Linked DNA regions of Homo sapiens: regions 1 and 3 are each linked to region 2. The links are contacts of gene promoters, found by promoter capture Hi-C in human tissues and cell types (Jung and others, 2019). All regions are on one chromosome and are shown on one strand. Each heading gives the region's core, a stretch centred on a gene start or on the middle of the fragment in contact. The rest is flanking DNA. Distances are from core to core; before and after follow the strand shown.

Region 1 (3,578 bases), core at 65-2,564, 330 kb before region 2:
GGAATCACAGTAACACATTGTGATGGAGAAGTATTCAACTGTCCAAGCAAGGCCCTGGAATAGCCACTGGGCAACCTGAATTTTCCAGAATGCTGAGTATACACCACACAGTAGCCTTTGCTTTTTGTGTTTTCATTGCCAGGTGGAGGCCCTGCTGGCATCCGAAGATTATGGCAAAGACCTAGCTTCTGTGAACAACCTGCTGAAAAAGCATCAACTGCTGGAAGCAGATATATCTGCCCATGAGGTAAGCAAAGGGAGGCGGGCCAGGCCCGAGTGCCTGGGACACAGCTCTGCCTGACTCCTAAGGAAAACAAGCGTGTTTGAGAAAAGAGAGTGACTTCTTTCACTTAAAGCAGCCATTCTCAAAGGTTGTGGCCTCAGGATCATTATACACTTGGCAGTTATTGAGGGCTCTTGAGAGATTTTTATTATGTAGGTTTTATCAATGCTCACCATTATTAAAAATTACATAAATTTTAAGGCCAGGTGCAGTGGCTTACGGCTGTAATCCCAGCACTTTGGGAGGCCCAGACAGGCAGATCTCCTGAGGTCAGGAGTTCGAGACCACTCCGGCCAACGTGGTGAGACCTCCGTCTCTACTAAAAATACAAAAATTAGCCGGGCGTGGTGGTGGCTGCCTGTAATCCCAGGTACTCAGGCGACTGAGGTAGGAGAATCACTTGAGCCCAGGAGGCGGAGGTTGCGGTAAGCCAAGATCGCGCCACGGCACTCCAGCCTAGGCAACAGAGCAAGACTCCATCTCAAAAAAAAAAAAAAATGCTGAATTCAGGTTGTGGTGTTTTGCATTGGATGAAAATTCAGTTTTACACAGGTAGGTAGGTAGAAAAGGGAGGAATATTTTGATTCGGGTAAGTGTGAATAATTTTCTTTGATACTATACCAAAGTCATAGTTTCTTAAAGCTTAGCTGTGGTCAGGTACAGTGGCTCACACCTGTAATCCCAGCACTTTGGGAGGCCGAGGCAGGCAGATCATGTGAGCCCAGGAGTTCAAGACCAGCCTGGGCAACATGATGAGACTCTGTCTGTACAAAAAAATACAAAAATTAGGCTGGGCATGGTGAGTCATGCCTGTAATCGTAGCACTTTGGGAGGCCGAGGCGGGTGGATCGCCTGAGCTCAGGAGTTCGAGACCAGCTTGGGTAACACAGTGAAACCCCGTTTCTACTGAAATACAAAAAATTAGCAGGGCGTGGCATGTGCCTATAAATCCCGGCTACTTGGGAGGCTGAGGCAGGAGAATTGCTTGAGCCCGGGAGGCAGAGGTTGCAGTGAGCCGAGATTGTGTAACTGTATTCCAGCCTGGGCGACAGAATGAGACTACGTCTCAAAAAAAAAACAAAAAAAAAACACAAAAATTAATTAGCCAAACGTTGGGGTATGCACCTATAGTCCCAGTTACTTGGAGGCCGAGGCGGGAGGTTCACTTGAGTCCAGGCAGGAGGTTGAGGCTGCAGTGTGTGTGTCATGATCACACCACCGCACTCTTGGATGACAGAGCAAGGAAAAAAAAGTTGTTGGGGGGTTAGTTGCAAAGTGGCCCCTGAAACCTTGTCAGTAAACTTTTTATACTGGATTATATTAAAACCCACTGGTCCATCTTGGGCTTTGAATGTAGCTCTTACCTGTGCATGATTTTGCAACATCATGCATGGCTCATTTGGTAAATATTGCTTCACTGAGTTATGCCTGTTCTATATGTTGACACATGTGATTATATGATATCAAAACATTGCAGTTAATACCACCACCAATTTCATTAGAAAAATCTTCACATATTAGGAAGCCTTCAGGCTCCTGGTGGTGGGTGTAAGTTTTCTAAAATTCTAACTTTCTCATAAAAGTTTGAATTTTATCATTAGTAACAAACTGTCAGTATTCTTTGAAGTGACAGGCTCACTTTATTTATTCTGGACCGAGTATCTGTGAGATACCAAGTCTGAATGAGCATAGTTTGTTCGGTGGTTGTTCTTTCAAGTACAAAAGAATGGCTACTCAGTAAAATTAACTTTCACTGCCTTTTTAAGGACATTTTTAAGTGAAACAGCATTTTTTTTTCACTGTGAGTGGGTGGCAGTGAAGAATCCACTTCTGCTAGTAGTTTGCCACTGCCTTGATTTGAGCTAAAGCACCAGCATGTCCCCTCCTCCATTGCTTTTGTACTATCAGTGCAAATGTCCACACGGTAAAAAATAATAATGTCTTATAATGTTATGAAAATAGTGTGAGTTGATAGAATGCCAGAGGTCCACATAACAGACTTTGAGAATATCAACACTCCACATCTCAGTAAGGAATTCCTGAGTTCTTATGTTCAAGCAGATAGCTGTGGGAGACCCAGTTTCTGACCCTCTTATGTCCCCTGCCCCAGGATCGCCTGAAGGACCTGAACAGCCAGGCAGACAGCCTGATGACCAGCAGTGCCTTCGACACCTCCCAAGTAAAGGACAAGAGGGACACCATCAACGGGCGCTTCCAGAAGATCAAGAGCATGGCGGCCTCCCGGCGAGCCAAGCTGAATGAATCCCATCGCCTGCACCAGTTCTTCCGGGACATGGATGACGAGGAGTCCTGGATCAAGTATGTCTTCTCAGCCCTCTAGAAGGCCCCTTACGCCTGTAATAGTGGGCAGCAGGAACCACAGGCTGACTGTTGAGTGGTGAGGCTGGAAACCCTGCTGGACTGGGATCCCAGCTTGGGCACACAGTCGTGGGATGCCTCAGTGTCTTCTGCTTTCCGGGTTTACAGTGATGATAATTGGCGGTGGTGGTGATCCATGCTGGCTACATAGGCCCTGTCTAGACCCTGCCTTTTAGATTCCCGTGAAAGTTAGTGAGTTTGTTTCTGAGCTTCTGGAGAAGATCACTTCTCCAAGGAAGGAGTTGCTTTTTTTCTTATTCTCTATCTGTCCCCGAAAATGTCAGTCTACTGATTCCAGTTGATGTGGCAGGTAAACAAACATTTTTTTTTCTGAGATGGAGTCTCGCTCTGTCACCAGGCTAGAATGCCACCATGCCTGGCTAATTTTTGTATTTTTAGTAGAGACAGGGTTTCACTATGTTGGCCAGGCTAGTCTCGAGCTGACCTCACCTGACCTCAAGTGATCCACCCACCTGGGCCTCCCAAAGTGCTGTGATCACAGGCATGAGCCACTGCGCCTGGTCGGAAGGCTTTAAGGAAGTAAGGAATTAAGAGAGAGGATTTTGTTCTTAAAAGACGTTTGTGGCCGGGCGCAGTGGCTCACGCCTGTGATCACAGTACTTTGGGAGGCTGAGGCGGGCAGATCACTTGAGGTCAGGAGTTCGAGACCAGCCTGGCCAACATGGTGAAACCCCGTCTCTACTAAATACACAAAAATTAGCCAGGTGTGGTAGCAGGCGCCTGTGGTCCCAGCTGCTTGTGAGGCTGAGGCAGGATAATCGCTTGAACCAGGGAGGCGGAGGTTGCAATGAGCCAAGATCGCACCACTGTACTCCAGAGCAAGACTCCGTCTCAAAAAAATAAAAAATAAAAATATAAAAATTAGCTGGGCATGGTGGCACGTGCCTGTAATCCC
Region 2 (3,590 bases), core at 343-2,842:
GCTACCCTTCTGTGTGCAGGGTCTGGGGATCAGCCAGATGGGAAGAGACATGCCCAGGAGCAGGTAGATGTGTGTCAGAATGAGTGGTCCACTGTCTCGTTCATCCAGAAAAAGGGACAGGAAGCTCCGTAGAGTGTGACCCAAAGGCTTGATGCGGAAGTAGCGCACATACTCCAGGAAGATGAAGACCGCCAGGCATACAGTGGCGGCTACATAGAGCAGTGGCCGGTCAAAGATGATACCTGGGATGTAGGTGGCTACCACAATGAGGTGGAAATACTTTCGGGCGATGGTGGGGGCCTGGTGCTTCTTGGACTCGGAAGATGACCGCTTGGCATTCTGGTACAGCACCACCAGGCAGGCCAAGGTGGCCAGCAGAGACCAATAGGCTAGGAGGTAGATGCGGGTGTCTGTCTGGAAGAGAAACTGAAGAAGCCAGAGCAGGGGATTCCTGCGGATGAGCCGGTGCAGCCAGGGTAGGACCACACCAAGGCTCAGCACACAGGTCATGAGGTGGAAGAAGATGGAGGAGGCCCAGGTGCCTGAGTCCATGAAGACAAACAGAGTGCTGAAGAAAATGCCCATGAGTACCATCCCTACTACCACCACCAGCAGGAAGAAGTCCACTGGGTCCCCCTGACTTTCCACCAGTGTCAGAGAGCGCTTGATGAGCTGGTTGAGGACAAAGCTAATGCCACCCAATACCAGCAGTGCCTCACCAGGGGTGAAGCAGCGGGGCAGCAGGTACAGCAGGATCATGTTGAGATAAACGAAGATCAGAAGGACTTCCAGGACTTCGATCACCTCCCCCACGCTCAACGAGTGCTTCATGATATAAATGATAACACCTCCAGCCAAGCCCAAGATGACACAAGTGTTGGTTGGCACTGGGCGAGTGATGCCGAGCGCCAACACTGATGAGAAGAGGGCCACTGCCATGCCAGTGGCTGCCACCACAATGCCAAAACGCTCAAAGAACGGGTTCCCAGCAGTCTGGCACCGCTCCTTCATGACTAGTCCAAGCAAAGGCATGACCATGGAGGCGGGCAATAGGCCACTGTTTGCGGACATTCGGAACTGGAAGACGGCGCTTCCCTGCTGTAGCAGCCGGTCCCACTTGTATTGGACGTAGAAGGCCTGCACTGCGAGGGCCACGGCGCACCACGAGTATCGGTCCCATACGGTTGCGTGGATGCTCAGCACCACTGCAAACACTACTGCCGCCTCTGCCAGCACCGATCCACTCAGCGGAGCCCCAGGCCCCGGGGCCGGAGATGGGCACTCTCGGGTCATATCTCTAGACCTGGGGCTTCACGGAGGCCGGGGCGACTACGGACGCCCTAGACTTCGGGCCCCTCAGCCCCGTCAAGCAGAGGGAGGCACTTTCACCCGGCCAGCAACCTTCTCCCTCCGTTCTCCAGCAGCGAGGAGGGAACTCCACCGCAGGTCACTTCTGCGGCCTGGGAGCTGGCGCCCGGCCACCCCCCACAGCCTCCAACCTACGGCGTAGACGTCGCCACTCTGCAGCCTTCCTCACAGTTACAGCCGCCCCCGCTGCCGGCTCCTCACCTCTTTGGGCCTCGCCATCTTGGCACCGCCCCGCGGCAACGTCACGTGACGAAATCCCCGCCCACGCTCCGGGTCCGGGGGCGAGCGGTCACGTGGGCATGGCGTCTGGGGGCGGGGTTAGGGCGAGCGGGCGCGCGAAGATGGCGGCGGCCGCCGGCGGGCCGTGTGTGAGGTGCGGAGCGGGTCGAATGGACCGGGGTGGCTGTGAAGCGCGGTGTCAAAGCCGAGCGGAAGCGGGGCGGGAATTGGAGGCGGGATGTGGCGACAGTGGCAGGGCCAACCCCGGCTGGATGGACGGGCACCGAGACGGGAGGCGGTTACGTCCAAACGGTCCCCGCGCGCGGGGATCTGAAGAGTCTTCTTCAGGAGGGGGGCCGGCTCTTCACCCCTTCCCTCCGCGCTCGGCCTCCCATCTCCTCACCCAGGGCCCTTTGCCTTCCTCCTCTCTCACCTCCGACGCGTCTCTTGGCGCCCCACCCGCGCTTCCTTCTCCGGCCGTGACGCTCCCTCGAGCCACGGGGAGCTTTGCGGTCTCCTGGGGTACCCCCCACCCACGTCCCTGCTGCAGGCTCCCAGTGTCCTGCCCCGGCGTCGAGTGCGCCCTGCTGGCTCCCCGACCTCTCCCGCGATCTGTTCTTGTTAGGATTTTGTTTCGCGTTGAGCGGAGCCACGCTTGCGGCTTCTGTCCTCTCCGCGCCTCGTATCGTTCTTTTCTTGCACTGAATCAAGTCAGCCAGCATGTCCAAATCCTCCAAGAGATTTCAGGGATTGAACTAGGCTTTAGGGACAAGAAGATGAAATATTATATACGAAAACTACAATTCTGACAAAGTGCTTTCTAGCGTCAGACCCTGGTGGAGCGCTTCCCAGGAGTTATCTCATTCAATTCTCGCAACTCCGAGAGGCGCCTTCTATTTCACAGATGACTCAGAAGTCCGGCTCAGAGCTAGCCAAGTGATAAAGAGAGCCTTCAAGCTGAAGTCTGCGTACCTCCAGTGCTATAACCAGACCACCACGCCTCCTTCTGTCTTCCACATTGCAGCTCGAAGGTCTTCGTTCTTCCCACCACCCTCCCTCAAAGTTAAACATCCCCGTCTCTTATCCTTCCCTGTGCCAGCAGTGTTTTCCCCACTTTTTTTTTTTTTTTTTTTTTTTTTTTTTTTTGAGACGGAGTCTCGCTCTGTCGCCCAGGCTGGAGTGCAATGGCACGATCTCGGCTCACTGCAAGCTCTGTCTCCCGGGTTCATGCCATTCTCCTGCCTCAGCCTCCCAAGTAGCTGGGGATACAGGCACCCGCCACAACGCCTGGCTAATTTTTTGTATTTTCAGTAGAGACAGGGTTTCACTGTGTTAGCCAGGATGGTCTCGATCTTCTGACCTCATGATCCGCCCGCCTCGACCTCCCAAAGTGCTGGGATTACAGGCATGAGCCACCGTGCCCGGCCCTAACAATATTATTATATAACAAGATTACTTTCCAAAAATTTAACAAATCGTTTTGTATATTGAGATTTTTTGCTTTTAGAGAGCAGACAAAATGGCTATGAGGCAGTGTACAAGTTTGTATGATCAGAAAGAGCAAAATTACCTCTGTTCTCTCATTTTGCAGGAGCAGTAGAGAACTGTGGACTATTCTGCTTGGAAGGTCAGCTCTGAGAGAGCTGGTAAGTGGTGGTGTTCTTGAGTGGGTTCTCTGGGTTCTTTGTGTAGCTTTTGTTACCAAAAAAAACCTTTTTTTAAATGTAGGAAGTAAACACATTTATTTATTTAGAGACAGAGTTTCGCTCTTGTTTCCCAGGCTGGAGTGCAATGGCGTGATCTCGGCTCACCGCAACCTCCGCCTCCCAGGTTCAAGCGATTCTCCTGCCTCAGCTTCTCGAGTAGCTGGGATTACAGGCATGCACCACCACGCCCGACTAATTTTGTATTTTTAGTAGAGATGGGGTTTTTCCATTTTGGTCAGGCTGGTCTCCAACTCCCGACCTTAGGTGATCTGCCCTCCTTGGCCTCCCAAATTGCTG
Region 3 (3,100 bases), core at 104-2,603, 370 kb before region 2:
ACTCAACCTCTTAACTTTCTGTGGGAGGAACTAAAATCACAAACCACAGACAAAACTGTATCCATTAAAGCTAACATGGCTCCGTCCCTAATGTGTCTGTTTGATGTTTCTGGAAGCCATTGTTAACAAATGTTGGTTGGTGACTCTGGCTCTCTTATGGTCCCTGAATAGGAAGCAATTGTTACTTCTGAAGAGCTGGGCCAGGATCTGGAGCATGTAGAGGTTTTACAGAAGAAATTTGAAGAGTTTCAAACAGATATGGCTGCTCATGAAGAAAGAGTTAATGAAGTGAACCAGTTTGCTGCCAAACTCATACAGGTAAATAGCAAAGTGCTGTATGCTTCTCACAACATTATTATGTTAACTTTTTAGTATATTCAGGATAAAATTTTGATGATTGGTCCCCTAATTTCTGAGTGAGCAAGTTTTTGTAAGCATGTCTGAGAGTTTTGTTTAGATGTGAGGCACAATACTGATTACTCCTAAATTGGAAAATGCTTTTCAATGTGTTGCCTTGGGCAGGAAGGGCAGAGTTCATTTGATCTGTTTCCTCTACCCACTTTTGGGTAGGGCTGGGTGAAGCTTTTATTGGACTGCTGAAGCTAGGTCTCAGGGTTTCTCAGACGAGGGTGTGGTGGTGAATGCTAAGTTAGTATTGGCAGATGTCCACCAATGCATTAGGGCTCTTGCCTTCCTTTTTTATTTGAAGCTTCCCTGGGCTCTCTTGGGAGCCTGGGAGAACCTTGTCGTGAATAGGCTCTCCACTCTGGCGCTGGAGCCCATTAAGAGGGAATGACAACCCTTCCCCAGTGCCCACGTGTACAATCCTGTAAGCTGCTTCCACTACGAGTCCAAAGGGTTCCAAAGACATCAAGTACTCGGAACCAGAGAGTTTTTACTTTTAGGGAAATTTGATTTGGGGGGTACAAATTTTAAGTGTATAAATCTGCTTATAGGCTGGTACTTGTTTCCATTTTCTGGCCAGTGATTAAGAGAAAGATACCCGGCATTCCTCAGAAATATCTCACCCTTCCACAGTGACAGATGTGTTGCTTTTCCAAACCCTAAGCTTTCCTGCGGTTGAGCTTGAGAAAAGTAGTCAGGCCAAACCCATGGTATCCCAGATGGATTCAAGAACCCTGAAATGCTTCATTTTATTACTTTGTATCATATTTTTTAAAACACCAAAATGTGGTTGGTAGGGAAGGATACTTTTAAAGAAATGTCTCTAAGCTTGATGCAGTGGCACCTGCCTATAGACCCAGCTACTCTACTCAGACTCAGGCTGACAAGACAGGATCACTTGAGACCAGCCTGGGTAACATAGCAAGACCCTGTCTCAAAAAAGAAAAAAAGAAATGTCGTCAGTCTAAAGCCAGGGACAAACTCTTGAGCCCCGAAAATTATGTTTATGTGCAAGAATGCTTAACAGCCTCATGAACATCTGAAATACCAAATTTTCAAGCAGTTAGGGTAGATGAGTACATTGATAAAGTTACCACACAGTTGTTGCCAAACTATTTATTAACATAAAGGTTTTTGGCACTTTTGCACATAACCACCTTATAGACTAACCACACTACTCCAAAAGATAGAGAATGGCTCTCCCCTTTTTACATAAGAAATAGAAACTCTTTGGAGTTGTAGTTCACTTTGTATCATGTTGACCATTATTTCTTGTGATTCTCTTCAGAGTGGTGATTTGCTGAGATGCTTCAAGGAACCAACCCCAGGGTAACTAGTTGGAGGAGCCAGAAGTTGTGTACAAATCCAGTCTCTTCTCTTCCTTGTTTAGGAGCAGCACCCTGAGGAGGAACTGATCAAGACTAAGCAGGATGAAGTCAATGCAGCCTGGCAGCGGCTGAAGGGCCTGGCTCTGCAGAGGCAGGGGAAGCTCTTTGGGGCAGCAGAAGTTCAGCGCTTTAACAGGTGTCAAGCCAGAGTGGGCTTTGGGGAATGGGTCTCAACCTGGAGGGGAGTTGTGAAGCACAGGGCATGTGCTGGTGAGCTGTCGAGGCTGACTAGGCCTTGGTCCCATGGGGTGTTCCTAGTTCTAGGGAGTCATCATTGCTGTGGATTAACTGGTGCCTTTGTTCTGTAGGGATGTGGATGAGACTATCAGTTGGATTAAGGAAAAGGAGCAGTTAATGGCCTCTGATGATTTTGGCCGAGACCTGGCAAGTGTTCAGGCTCTGCTTCGGAAGCACGAGGGTCTGGAGAGAGATCTTGCTGCTCTAGAAGACAAGGTGGGTTTTACAAGCAGCTGATTCTGTAAATAAGTTACCAAGGGTCAGGAGAATAGTTCTGACGGAGTTCATTTCTAGGTCAAAGCCCTGTGTGCTGAGGCTGACCGCCTGCAACAGTCCCACCCTCTGAGTGCAACACAGATTCAAGTGAAGCGAGAGGAACTGATTACAAACTGGGAGCAGATCCGCACCTTGGCGGCAGAGAGACATGCACGGCTCAATGATTCATACAGGTGCAAATAATGCTCCAGGTCTTAACCAGTATCATTTGGCTTCTTTTTTGGAAGCAGGAATAGCAGAGTTAAGGGTCTGTTCTGTGTTCTGTGAAAGTGTCAGGTATCACCTACAAATGCAAATCACTTCTTACCTATGTTCTCTCTGTTTGGAGACTGGCAACTGTATCATGTGTAGTATACGTATGGTATTTACAACTTCATAAATTCTTCTATTCTGCATCACTGCATTATGATTGATAGAATGGGAATGTCCCTTTAAGTATCTGAGTATCACATGAAATATCTTATTAAAACCAGGATTAGAAAGGAAAAGAATCCTTGCTAGCCAAGGGTTGAACCTGGGAATAACAAGGAAGTTGAAAATGTGGGACAGGATTGGGGCATTATAGTGATGGAGAGAACCTAAGTTTTAAAGGGTTGATTTCAGCCTTCTCTTGCTTTCCTTCACAGTCTAGATTGGGAAATTTTCATATTTCCCAGAATTAGAATTTATATAGTTTGTTAGACATTTGAGAACATAGAATTCAGAGCTTTAGGGAGGCCATTTTCCACCCTGGAACCTCCGCTGGAAACATAATGTCTTCCTTTGGTTTTCCCTAGGCTTCAACGCTTCCTTGC

The links. The method cuts DNA at HindIII sites, captures the fragments that hold promoters and counts their contacts. A contact is called where the count stands out against the background at its distance.
Region 1: a fragment that was not itself captured here is called in contact with the fragment with the promoter of DOLK in region 2 in 1 of the 25 tissues and cell types used here (aorta).
Region 3: a fragment that was not itself captured here is called in contact with the fragment with the promoter of DOLK in region 2 in 2 of the 25 tissues and cell types used here (dorsolateral prefrontal cortex and heart right ventricle).

The regions. Positions count from the first base shown.
Region 1 is chr9:128,613,239-128,616,816 of GRCh38, forward strand. It overlaps SPTAN1 (spectrin alpha, non-erythrocytic 1), which reads left to right. Exons shown (of 57, transcript NM_001130438.3): 40 at 143-247; 41 at 2,394-2,602. Among named protein-coding and RNA genes, the nearest start is that of DYNC2I2, 42 kb to the right of the region's middle. The HindIII fragment of the contact is 6,237 bases long and covers 1-3,578 here.
Region 2 is chr9:128,946,011-128,949,600 of GRCh38, forward strand. DOLK (dolichol kinase) reads right to left here and starts at 1,593. Exons shown (of 1, transcript NM_014908.4): 1 at 1-1,593. The coding sequence starts at 1,293. NUP188 (nucleoporin 188) reads left to right here and starts at 1,689. Exons shown (of 44, transcript NM_015354.3): 1 at 1,689-1,741; 2 at 3,179-3,233. The coding sequence starts at 1,710. RefSeq lists enhancers at 353-915, 916-1,477, 1,339-1,408, 1,478-2,039, 1,759-1,808. The HindIII fragment of the contact is 11,289 bases long and covers 1-3,590 here.
Region 3 is chr9:128,575,028-128,578,127 of GRCh38, forward strand. It overlaps SPTAN1 (spectrin alpha, non-erythrocytic 1), which reads left to right. Exons shown (of 57, transcript NM_001130438.3): 5 at 172-318; 6 at 1,796-1,929; 7 at 2,102-2,246; 8 at 2,325-2,479; 9 at 3,083-3,100. Among named protein-coding and RNA genes, the nearest start is that of SPTAN1, 24 kb to the left of the region's middle. The HindIII fragment of the contact is 4,698 bases long and covers 1-3,100 here.